2 separate regions of the Homo sapiens genome follow, and region 2 is linked to region 1. The links are contacts of gene promoters, found by promoter capture Hi-C in blood cells and fetal thymus (Javierre and others, 2016). All regions are on one chromosome and are shown on one strand. The core of a region is centred on a gene start or on the middle of the fragment in contact, and the rest is flanking DNA. Distances in the headings are between cores, read along the strand shown. Region 1 holds the start of WDR73 (WD repeat domain 73). Region 2 has its middle 23 kb from the start of PDE8A.

Evidence for each region. The method cuts DNA at HindIII sites, captures the fragments that hold promoters and counts their contacts. A CHiCAGO score of 5 or more calls a contact.
Region 2: a contact is called between a fragment that was not itself captured here and the fragment with the promoter of WDR73 in region 1, in 6 of 17 cell types (naive CD8 T cells, fetal thymus, naive CD4 T cells and 3 more). The highest score is 6.2, in naive CD8 T cells.

Annotation. Positions count from the first base shown.
Region 1 is chr15:84,652,100-84,657,321 of GRCh38, reverse strand. WDR73 (WD repeat domain 73) reads left to right here and starts at 3,039. Exons shown (of 8, transcript NM_032856.5): 1 at 3,039-3,088; 2 at 3,623-3,690; 3 at 4,520-4,608. The coding sequence starts at 3,048. It overlaps NMB (neuromedin B), which reads left to right. Exons shown (of 3, transcript NM_021077.4): 2 at 1-146; 3 at 1,913-2,190. The coding sequence ends at 1,948. RefSeq lists enhancers at 3,053-3,292, 2,719-3,686. The HindIII fragment of the contact is 10,475 bases long and covers 1-5,222 here.
Region 2 is chr15:84,956,644-84,961,865 of GRCh38, reverse strand. It overlaps a transcript of SLC28A1 not described here. Among named protein-coding and RNA genes, the nearest start is that of PDE8A, 23 kb to the left of the region's middle. The HindIII fragment of the contact is 954 bases long and covers 2,280-3,233 here.

The DNA.
Region 1 (5,222 bases), core at 1,790-4,289:
AGCCTTCCAGCCCATCCCCATTGGGGACAGCTCCCCACACCTCCCTGAGGGACCAGCGACTGCAGCTGAGTCATGATCTGCTCGGAATCCTCCTGCTAAAGAAGGCTCTGGGCGTGAGCCTCAGCCGCCCCGCACCCCAAATCCAGGTGAGCCGGGCCCCTGCTCCAATGTCAGGAGGGCCCAGCTGGGGCCATCCCCGGATCCTGCATGGGAGGAATTACCACCCAGTACTGTATTAGGGTGTGACTGTCTGACTAGGACATTATGGGTGTGGACCCCAGAAAGCCAGGTTTCCAGGCTTTTCCCTCTTGAGGCAGAGCTCAAAGGAGGAACAGTCCAAAGAAAGGAAGCTGACCTTCCCAGTAGACCCCATGGGGCAAGAAGTAGGGAAAGAAGTTCCCCTGACTCATCACCCAGTCTAAAGTAACAGACTGGGATCATCAGCCTTTTGGAGCAGGACCTTTCTCCCCCAGTCTACACAGTCTTGTCCCACCCATGCTGTTCCCTGCTGCATTAGTCAAGTCCACCTTTGCTGTGTCCTGTGTATGCTTGTGGCCGGAATGGGACCCTGAGGCCCAGAGAGGGAAAGAGAAGTCAGCAGCCAAGACAGAGTCTGGACCTTGTTCACCTGGACTGGAGCTCTTCCCATTCTCTCATCTGCCTCAGTATCCAGTGGTAGGGTTTAGCAACTTCAGTACATTTGACGTTCTAGGCTGAATCACTGTTTCTTGTGAGGGCTGACGTGTGCATCATGGGATGTTTGGCAGCATCCCTGGTCTCTACATACTAGATGCCAGTAGCATCTTTCCCCCCCATCAAGTTGTGACAACTGAAAAGACCTCCAGACATCACCAGATGTCTGCTGGGGGAGAGGGCCCCAAATCATTATTGGTTGTCAGTCACTGATCTATGGGATTCAAGACTCCAAAGCTGGAGCCAAGCTAGCCTCAAGGTATAGCCCCGCTGAGTGGCAACTCCTTCATTCCCTGCTCCTGGTGCTGTCCTTACTGCACACCACCCTCCCTGGTCCTGCTGCTGTGTGCAGAAGGCAGTGTGATGTGGTAGAATGTGGGTTTTGACTACAACGTGCTGGGCTCATAACCTAGCTACTTAGTAGCTGTATGACCTTAGAAATGTCCCTTAACTTCTCTAAAGCCTCAATATTCTTCACCCATAAAATGAAGATAATAAGGCCCATCTCCCATTAAATGAGACCATTTATGTCAAATGCTCAGCATGGTGCCTGGCTCATAGACAGCCCTTAGTAGATGCGAGCTCTTATCAGTCTGTGAGCTCCCTGGCGGCACCTGTTGTAGACTCGCCTTCATATCCCCCAGTGTGCCTAGCATATAGTGTGTGCATTTTGAAGGGAGAGGCATTCCCTAGAAAAGGTCCAACCCAGCCTCAACCAACATCCCTGACTTCCTGAGGCACAGAACCAGCAGCCCCTGAGGACCTCAGATGTAAGGCCTAGGAGCTTGGGCTGGCTGAGTCTGAAGGGAAACAATGTCACCTCTAATGCCCTTGGTTTTGAAGCTCTGACACATGCAGACCAACTAGAGAATCTCAGAAGCAGCAGTGCCTACGTCTGGGGCTTCAGAGTGAGGTCTGGGGCAGAGCTGGGGTGGGGGAGTGAGGACGCTGACACTAGCCCAGCACCAAGCACTGTATTTGGATTTTCTTCCACGATCTTCTTTGACTGTCATGACCACCCTGGGTGGTTGGGGCTGTGTTCTGAGAAAACTACTGCCCCGACCCCTCCAAGGCAATTCAGGGTGCTCTGGGGCCTGCCTCAGCTGACAGCCTGCTGGTGCCCACCTCTGCAGACATCTGGCACTTAGGAATGGCAGGATGCCCCTATCTTTATCAGGAGCCCCTCCCTGGCTCAATTCTTCTGTATGTTTCTCTTCAGTACAGGAGGCTGCTGGTACAAATACTGCAGAAATGACACCAATAATGGGGCAGACACAACAGCGTGGCTTAGATTGTGCCCACCCAGGGAAGGTGCTGAATGGGACCCTGTTGATGGCCCCATCTGGATGTAAATCCTGAGCTCAAATCTCTGTTACTCCATTACTGTGATTTCTGGCTGGGTCACCAGAAATATCGCTGATGCAGACACAGATTATGTTCCTGCTGTATTTCCTGCTTCCCTGTTGAATTGGTGAATAAAACCTTGCTCTTTACATACAATGCCTGGTCCTCTCCTTTCACCCGTCTTTTAGGGGATGGGAGGAAAAGGGGGCTGGAGGGCAGAGTGTTCAGTGAGATGGGGCTGGCTCAAAAAGTCCAGAATACCCCATGCCATGGCACCAGCCTGGCACTGACTCTGGCCTCCTACCCATTCATTCAGCAAGCAAATAACGCCTGTTGCATGCCAGGCTTCGTGCCAGGCGCGGGGTTCTACTCTCATCTCTGCCACCTACTGGCGCAGGCAAGTGTCACTAGTTTCCTCGCTAGTAAAAGGGGGCTGCAGACACTACACTGCCGGGCTTTACTCAATACCCCCGCCGGACTTGGAGGGGAGCGCCGAGTTGGGATCCAGACCCTGCCGGCCGCTTCCTCTCTTCTCTGGCCGTCAGAAGGGTTGCCAGCGTTAGCAAATAAAAATACTGGACACCCAGTTAAATTCGAATTTCAGATAAACAATAATTTTATCTAATAAAATGTACCAAATATTGCATGAACATACTCGTAAGAAAGAAATTATTCACCGTTTTTCTGAAATTCGAATTTAACCGGGCGGTCCTGTATTATTTCTGGCCTTGGAGCATTCATTGCCCCTCTCTTGGGCTGCAAACACCTGGCCCTAAAACGGGCGATCATTTGGTCCTCAGGTCCTGCTTGGAGCTGACAGCGGGAAAGTCCCGATTTCAGGTCACTTTTCCCGGAGCTTTCGCGGAGAAAACCCGTAACCCACCCATGCCGGGCCGCAGCTCAGCCTGTTAACCCCGCCCCTAACGGGAGGCCCTGCCCACATCTCGCGAGAGCCGCGCGGCCCCCGAAGGCTCGCAGGCGGAAGTGAGACGCCGGAAGCGGTCGTTGCCATGGATCCTGGGGACGACTGGCTGGTGGAATCCTTGCGCTTGTAAATCGTACGGGGCTGGGACATGGGAGCTGGGCCTGGAGCTTGCCTGGCGGGCGGATGGGTGTGGGTGGAGGCACGTTGGGGATCCTGGTGCAGAGTGGGCCAGCTGTGGCCTCGGGGCTCGCCACCGTGGAGGACTCCGCCTGGGCCTAGGCCCCCATCTCTAGGAAATGGCTCCTTCCTGCGTGCGCGCGTTGTGAGATTACTAGTAAGAGCCGCGCTTGTGAAGACGCAGTGCCCAGTTAGTTTGCGCCAGCCTCTGAGTTCAGCTCAGAACACAGATGATCTCATTGATTCCTCACGTCAACCTTGGGAAATCTGGGTACCCTGGGACGTCCACACATGAGGACCGAGGCTCAGGGACATCAAGGGACTGGCCTGGTCCCAGAAACAGGGAGTAAAATGGGAAGTAAACTCAGTCCCACGTCTGCCTGACTCCAGAGTTTGGGCCACTGAACCATGCGGCTGCCATCTTGGAGTTCTTTGAGCTGTGAAGTGCTGTGCATCGTGTGATTCTGTGTCCCTTTTGTGCAGGTACCAGGATTTCTATGCATTCGACCTGTCAGGAGCCACTCGAGTCCTTGAATGGATTGATGACAAAGGTGGTATACCTTTCTAGCCCTGAAGGAGAGGGAATCTCACTCCTGAGCTGGGTTTCAGGAGCTAAGCCTAGAGGGACCCAACCCACTCTTCTGGGCACCTGAGAGTCACTTGTAGCAATTTGATGCCCCATCAGCACTAATATTCCTCTTATTAAGATCTCTGACCGGGAGCAGTGGTTCACGCCTGTAATCCCAGCACTTTGGGAGGCCGAGGCAGGCGGATCACCTGAGGTCAGGAGTTCGAGACCAGTCTGGCCAACATGGTGAAACCCCGTCTCTACTGAAAATACAAAAATTAGCCGGACGAGGTGGTGCACACCTGTGTACCAGCAGCTACTGGGGAGGCTGAGGCAGGAGAATCACTTGAACCCAGGAGGTGGAGGTTGCAGTGAGCTGAGATCACGACACTGTATTCCAGCGTGGCTAACAAAAAAAGTCTTCAGGCTGGGCACTTCAGGAGGCTGAGGCAGCGGGCAGATTGCTTGATCCCAGGAATTTGAGACTAACCTAAGCAAGGAAACCCTGTCTCTACAAAAAATACAAAAATTAGCCGAGCATGGTGGCTCACGCCTATAATCCCAGCTACTCTGAAGGCTGTGGTGGGAGGATCACTTGAGCCTGGCAGGTTGAGGCTGCAGTGAGCTGTGATCGGACCACTGCACTCCAGCCTGGCTGACACAGCGAGACCTTGTCTGAAAAAGACACAACCAGGTACTCAATTCCTCCATACAAGGCTGCACAGTGAAGGAATGTATCCTTACTTCGGGGGATTGCATGGTCTGCAATCTTTCTAACAATTTGTGACAGCTACCTCTGCTTCTTTTTCCAGGAGTCTTTGTTGCTGGCTATGAAAGCCTGAAAAAGAATGAAATTCTTCATCTGAAATTACCTCTCAGACTTTCTGTAAAGGAAAACAAGGTAACTTAAAATATAAATGCTGAGTATGTCAACTTTTATTTATTTATTAAACATTTGTGGAGCTCCTGTTATCTACCAGGTATTGTCCTGGATACTAGAAAGAGAGAAAGCGCTAGGCCTGCCCTTCTAGTCTAACAGAGGGAGGCACATATGCACAGAGATAAATGCTGTAGAATGTCTCGTGGTTTACAGAGGGCTATCAGAGGAGGAGGTCAGTTATACTTTATCAGAAATAGATTTAGGGAGCGATTAAGGATATAGAGGGCGGTCGAAATGCGTAGAGTGATTAAAGTCACCTAGTGAATGTGTGGTATATAAGGAGTGAGGAGAATATAGTGAGGACGGAACCTCAGGGAACACATTTAAGGGATGAGTACAGGAAGATGCACCCCCCCTCCCCAAAGAATACTAAGAAAGAACAGCCTCTGAGGTAAGAGGAATCTCAGAAAAGGTCAATGTTTCTGAAGCCAAGAGAAGAGAACTTCTCAAGAAAAAAAGAGTTAGTAGCTGTCTAGAGTTCCAATAAAATCATTGAGAGAAGAATTGAAGGCCAGGTGCAGTGGCTTACGCCTGTAATCCCAGCACTTTGGGAGGCCGAGTTGGGCGGATCATGA
Region 2 (5,222 bases), core at 1,507-4,006, 300 kb before region 1:
TGAAGGGCAGTATCTCTGTCGTAGGTGCTGCCGTTGTGAATCCCAAACTCTTCCTGGCTGTCTCACCTAGTTAGTGACTTTACCTGGCATGAGCTTCTCTCACCCAACATCTTGGAGTACTTGGACCACCTTAAACTGCTGCTGTATTAATTAACTGTCATTAAATGATGCTGCCGTAACAGTCTCGGAATCTTAGTGTCTTACGACCATCAAGATTTATCTCTCAGCCAGGCAAAGTGGCTCATACCTGTAATCCCAGCACTTTGGGAAGCCAAGGCAGTAGGATCATTTAAGGCCAGGAGTTCAAGACCAGCCTGGTCAACATAGCAAGACCTCGTCTCTACAAAAAATAAAATAAAATAAAATATTAGCCAGGTGTGACGGCACATACATGTAGTCCCAGCTGCTTGGGAGACTGAGGTAGGAAGATCCCTTGAGCCCAGGAGGTTGAGGCTACAGTGAGCCATGATTATATCACTGTACCCCAGCTTGGGCAACAGAGTGATACCCTGTCTCTAAAAAAAAAAAAAAAAATTCTCTCTCACTCACAGAATGAGTCACCTGAGGTTGCTGCGGCTCTATTCCATGCATTTCTTTATCCTGAAATCCAGGCTGAAAAGAGAAGCCCCTTTCTGAGTCACGCTGTTCTCAAAAGAGGCAGGCTGCTTGGATGGTTCAGAGCACGGCCTTGCATTCAGATAAGGCTAGGCAAAAATGCCTGCATTATCAGAGTTAATGCTTACAACACCCCTACGAGTTCGGAGGTGATATTCTCATTTTACAGATGAGAAACCTGAAATTATCTTGCCCGAGGACACACAGGGATGTGAAGAAGTGGAGCCGGAACTCAACCATGTATGTGTCTGGCTCTAAAGCCCAGGCTTTCCCTCACCCTGCTATTCTGTCCCTGCAAAGCCAATTCAGGATCAGCCAGTTAAACATGCTGAATTGAGAGCACCTGTAGTTAGCACTGTTGTCGCTCAAAACTCCACTAAAAAAAGGGGAAAGAAAGAAAAGATTTATAAAGCAATAAGGACTAAGAGAGTGAGAGCAGCAACAGGAGAGATAAGGAATGTTAACACAGTTTTGGAAGCAGAGCTGATAAAGCTGAACTGTGAAGCTCAGGAACTGGAGGCACCTATTACTGCAAAAGCGAGGGCGAAGGTGGGGCTGAAAACAGGAAGCGGAGTTGAAAGCCTAGAGCCCCAGGCCCACCTGCCCATCACCCACATCCAGGTGGCTCTTTCTTCTCTGACAGGAAACTGGAGTTTTATCCTATGGAGATATTGAATCAGAAAAGCAGGCACAGGCCAGGCACAGTGGATCATGCCTGTAATCCCAGCACTTTGGCCGGCCGAGTCAGGTGGATCGCTTGAGTACAGGGGTTCGAGGCCAGCCTGGGCAACATAGTGCAACCCTGTTTCTACTAAAAATGCAAAAATTAGCCGGGCATGGTGGCACATGCCCATAATCCAAGTTACTTGGGAGGCTGAGGCAGGAGAATCTCTTGAATTCAGCAGGGGCGGAGGTTGCAGTGAGCTGAGATTGCGCCACTGTACTCCAGCCTGGGCGACAGAGCAAGACCTTGTCTCAAAAAAAAAAAAAAAAAAAAAAAAAAAAAAAAAAAAAAAAAAAAAGCAGGCAGGCACAGGGGAGTGGAAAATGTTCTGTATTTTAAAGAAAGATTACGGGAGAGTTTATAAACTGAATGTTCAGCACCACCTCCTCCCTCTTTGTGCCACTGTATTCCTGGAATTTTCTCTACCCTATGTGTGCCCTCTCCAGGCAGGAGACTGGAAGATTCTTCTCTGGAGAAATATCATGACCCCAGAAAATAGATTTATAGGTACTGAAATCCAAGAGTTCCCCCCATTGAAATAGATGGTCTCAGCCCAGTTATCTCACAGTAAGATACACTAGTTGATAAGCCTTATCCCTCCCCAACTCCTCAGTGTTTAAGCAACTCTTCAGGGACTCATTGTTACGTATGAACGTAAAACAAAGGATCACCATAGATTTGAGGACAGAATCTAATATGGAAGACAGAGATCAAAACAAACAAAACAAAAAGGAATGGAGGGTCCAGAGACAATGCACATGGACAAAGAAAAATGCCTTGAAACTATTAATATTCTCAGAGACACAGGAAATGATATTACTCACATGAAACAGGAAGGGCATATTAGAAACAAAGAAAACCCAACCATGAGGAAAGAGCTTTGGAAAGTTAAAATTATGATAGCAGGAAACAAGTTGATAGAAAAGTTGGAAGACAAGCTTAAGGACAATTTTCAGAAAGCAAACAAAATTATAAAGAAAGAACAATAAGAGAAGAGAGGTAAAAAAATTCGAAGATAAATTCGGAGGGTCTAACATTACAAAAAAAAAAGGAGTTTCAGAAAGAGAAAATAGAGAAAATGAAAGAGAGAAAATTAACAAAGAAAGGATATAAAACTTCCCTGACTGGTCATGGTGGCTCATGCCTGTAATCCCAGCACTTTGGAAGACCGAGGTGGGCAGATCACTTGAGGCCAGGAGTTTGAGACCAGCCTGGCCAACATGGCAAAACCCCATCTCTATAAAAAATACAAAAATTAGCTGGGCATGGTGGCAAAGGCCTGTAATCCCAGCTACTTGGGAGGCAGAGGTGGGAGGATCACCTAGGCCTGGGATGGTCGAGGCTGCAATGAGCTGTGATCATGCCACTGCACTCCAGCCTGGGTGACAGAGTGAGACCTCATCTCTTTTTTTTTTTTTTTTTTTTTTGAGATGAAGCCTCACTCTGTCACCCAGGCTGGAGTGCAATGGCGCAATCTCGGCTCACTGCAACCCCCACCTCCTGGGTTCAAACGATTCTCCTGCCTCAGCCTCCCGAGTAGCTAGGACTACAGGTGTGCACCACTCAACCCTGCTAATTTTTGTATTTTTAGTAGAGATGAGGTTTCACCATGTTGGCCAAGCTGGTCTTGAACTCTTGGCCTCAAGTGATCCACCCACCTTAGCCTCTCAAAGTGCTGGGATTACAGGCATGAGCCACCATGCCCAGCAAGACCCCATCTCAAAAAATAAAAATAAAATAAAAAAAATTTTGAGACCATCCTGGGCAACATAATGATATCTCATCTCTATAAAAGAAATTTTAAAATTAACCAGGTTTGGTGGTGCCTTCCTGTAGTCCCAGCTATTTGGGAGGCTGAGGTGGGAGGATGGCTTGAGTCTGAGAGACCAAAGCTTCAGTAAGCTACGGTTGCACCACTGTACTCCAGGCTGGGTAATAGAATGAGACCCTGCCTCAAACAAACAAACAAACAAACAAAAAACTGTAAGAGGAAGTGATTTCCAAACCTAGATTATATTCCCTACTAAGCTATTAACCAAGTGTGATGGTAGAATAAAGACATTTTCAGATATGCAATTTTTCACAAAATTTGATCTCTTGTGTATACTTTCTCAGGTGTTCTACCAAAATGAGGGAATAACCCAAGAAAGAGAAAGACAAGGGTTCCAAAAATAGGACATCCACCCAAGAGAGGTGTAAGCAAGTCCCAGGGTGACAGCTGAGCAGCAGCAGGCCTGAAGAGAACCAGGTGGAATAAGATAACACAGGGTTCCAGAAGGAACATCTCGGGAAAAGAGGGAATCAGATATAGGACCTTATAGAAAATAGCTCTCAGAGCTTGCGGATTTATATATATAAACAATTTTCTCTGGATATAAGACCAATATACAAAAATCAAGTATATTTCTACAATGGGCAATCCAATGACAAAATGAAGAAAACAATTCTGTTTTCTTCAGAAATTCTAAGTACTTAGGAATAAATTTAATAAATGAAGTGCAAGACTTGTACAATGAAAACTACAAAACATTGTTGAAAGAAATTAAAGAAGATCTAAGCAAACGGAGAGGCATCCCATGTTCATGGATCAGAGGACTTAATATTTTAAACTGGATGTACCCCTCAAATTGATCTACATATTCAATGCAATCTCTATCAAAATCTCAGCTGGGTTTTTTGCAGAAATTGATGAGGTGATTTTAAAATTCATATGGAAATGCAAGGGAACTAGAATAGCTTAAACAATCTTTAAAAAGAATAACAAAGATGGAAGACTCATACTTCCTGATTCCAAACCTTCCTACAAAGCTACAGTAATCAAAATAGTGTGGTAGTGGCATGAGGATAGACTACAGATAAATGGAATAGAATTAAGAGCTCAAAAATAAACCCTCATATTATGGTCAATTGATTTTTGACAACGGTGCCAAAACAATTCAATCAGAGAGAATAGTGTTGTCGGCCAGGCATGGTGGCTCATGCCTGTAATCCCAGAAATTTGGGAGGCATAGATGGGTGGATCACTTGAGGCCAGGAGTTTGAGACCAGCCTGGCCAATGTGGCAAAATGCTGTCTTTACTAAAAATACAAAAATTAGCTGGGCGTGGTGGCGTTCGCCTGTACTCCCAGCCACTCAGGAGGCTGAGGCACAAGAATCGCTTGAACCCAGGAGGCAGAGGTTGCAGTGAGTGGAGACTGCGCCACTGCACTCCAGTCTGGGCAACAGAGTGAGACTCTGTCTCAAAAAACAAAACAAAACAAAACAAACAAACAAAAAACTACGTGCAAAAGAATGGAGTTGGGGAATGACTTCTCGGGTGATGACAATATTCTTAAATAGATTCTGGTGATGGGCTGTACAACTAAATATACTAAAAACCATTGAATTTTACACTATAGGGTAATTTTATAGTATATCATTATATGTCAATAAAGTTGTTTAAAAATTAAAAATAATTTTCTTAACAAATTTGGGAAGAAATAATGACAGTTAAAAAGAAATCTAAGCAACAAAAACAAAAAAACAAGGTATATGGATTTGAAAATGCATAAATTTTTCACATTTTAACATTTCTGATATGGAGATGCATCCTACAAACAATGGAGTGTCACAGTTTAGTTGGGAGTGTTCTTTCTTAGTGGTACATAAAAAATGGCACATCTTACTGTCTTAAATTAGAAGAATTATGGTGATATGTTCAGAAGGAACAAGATGTGCAAGAGGCCAGGTGCAGTAGCTCACGTCTGTAATCCCAGCACTTTGGGAGGCCATGGCAGGAAAATTGCTTGAGCTCAGAAGTTTGAAATCAGCCTTAGCAACACAGGAAGACCTTATCTCTATTAAAAAAAAAAAAAAAAAAGTAAAAATTAGTCAGGTGTGGTG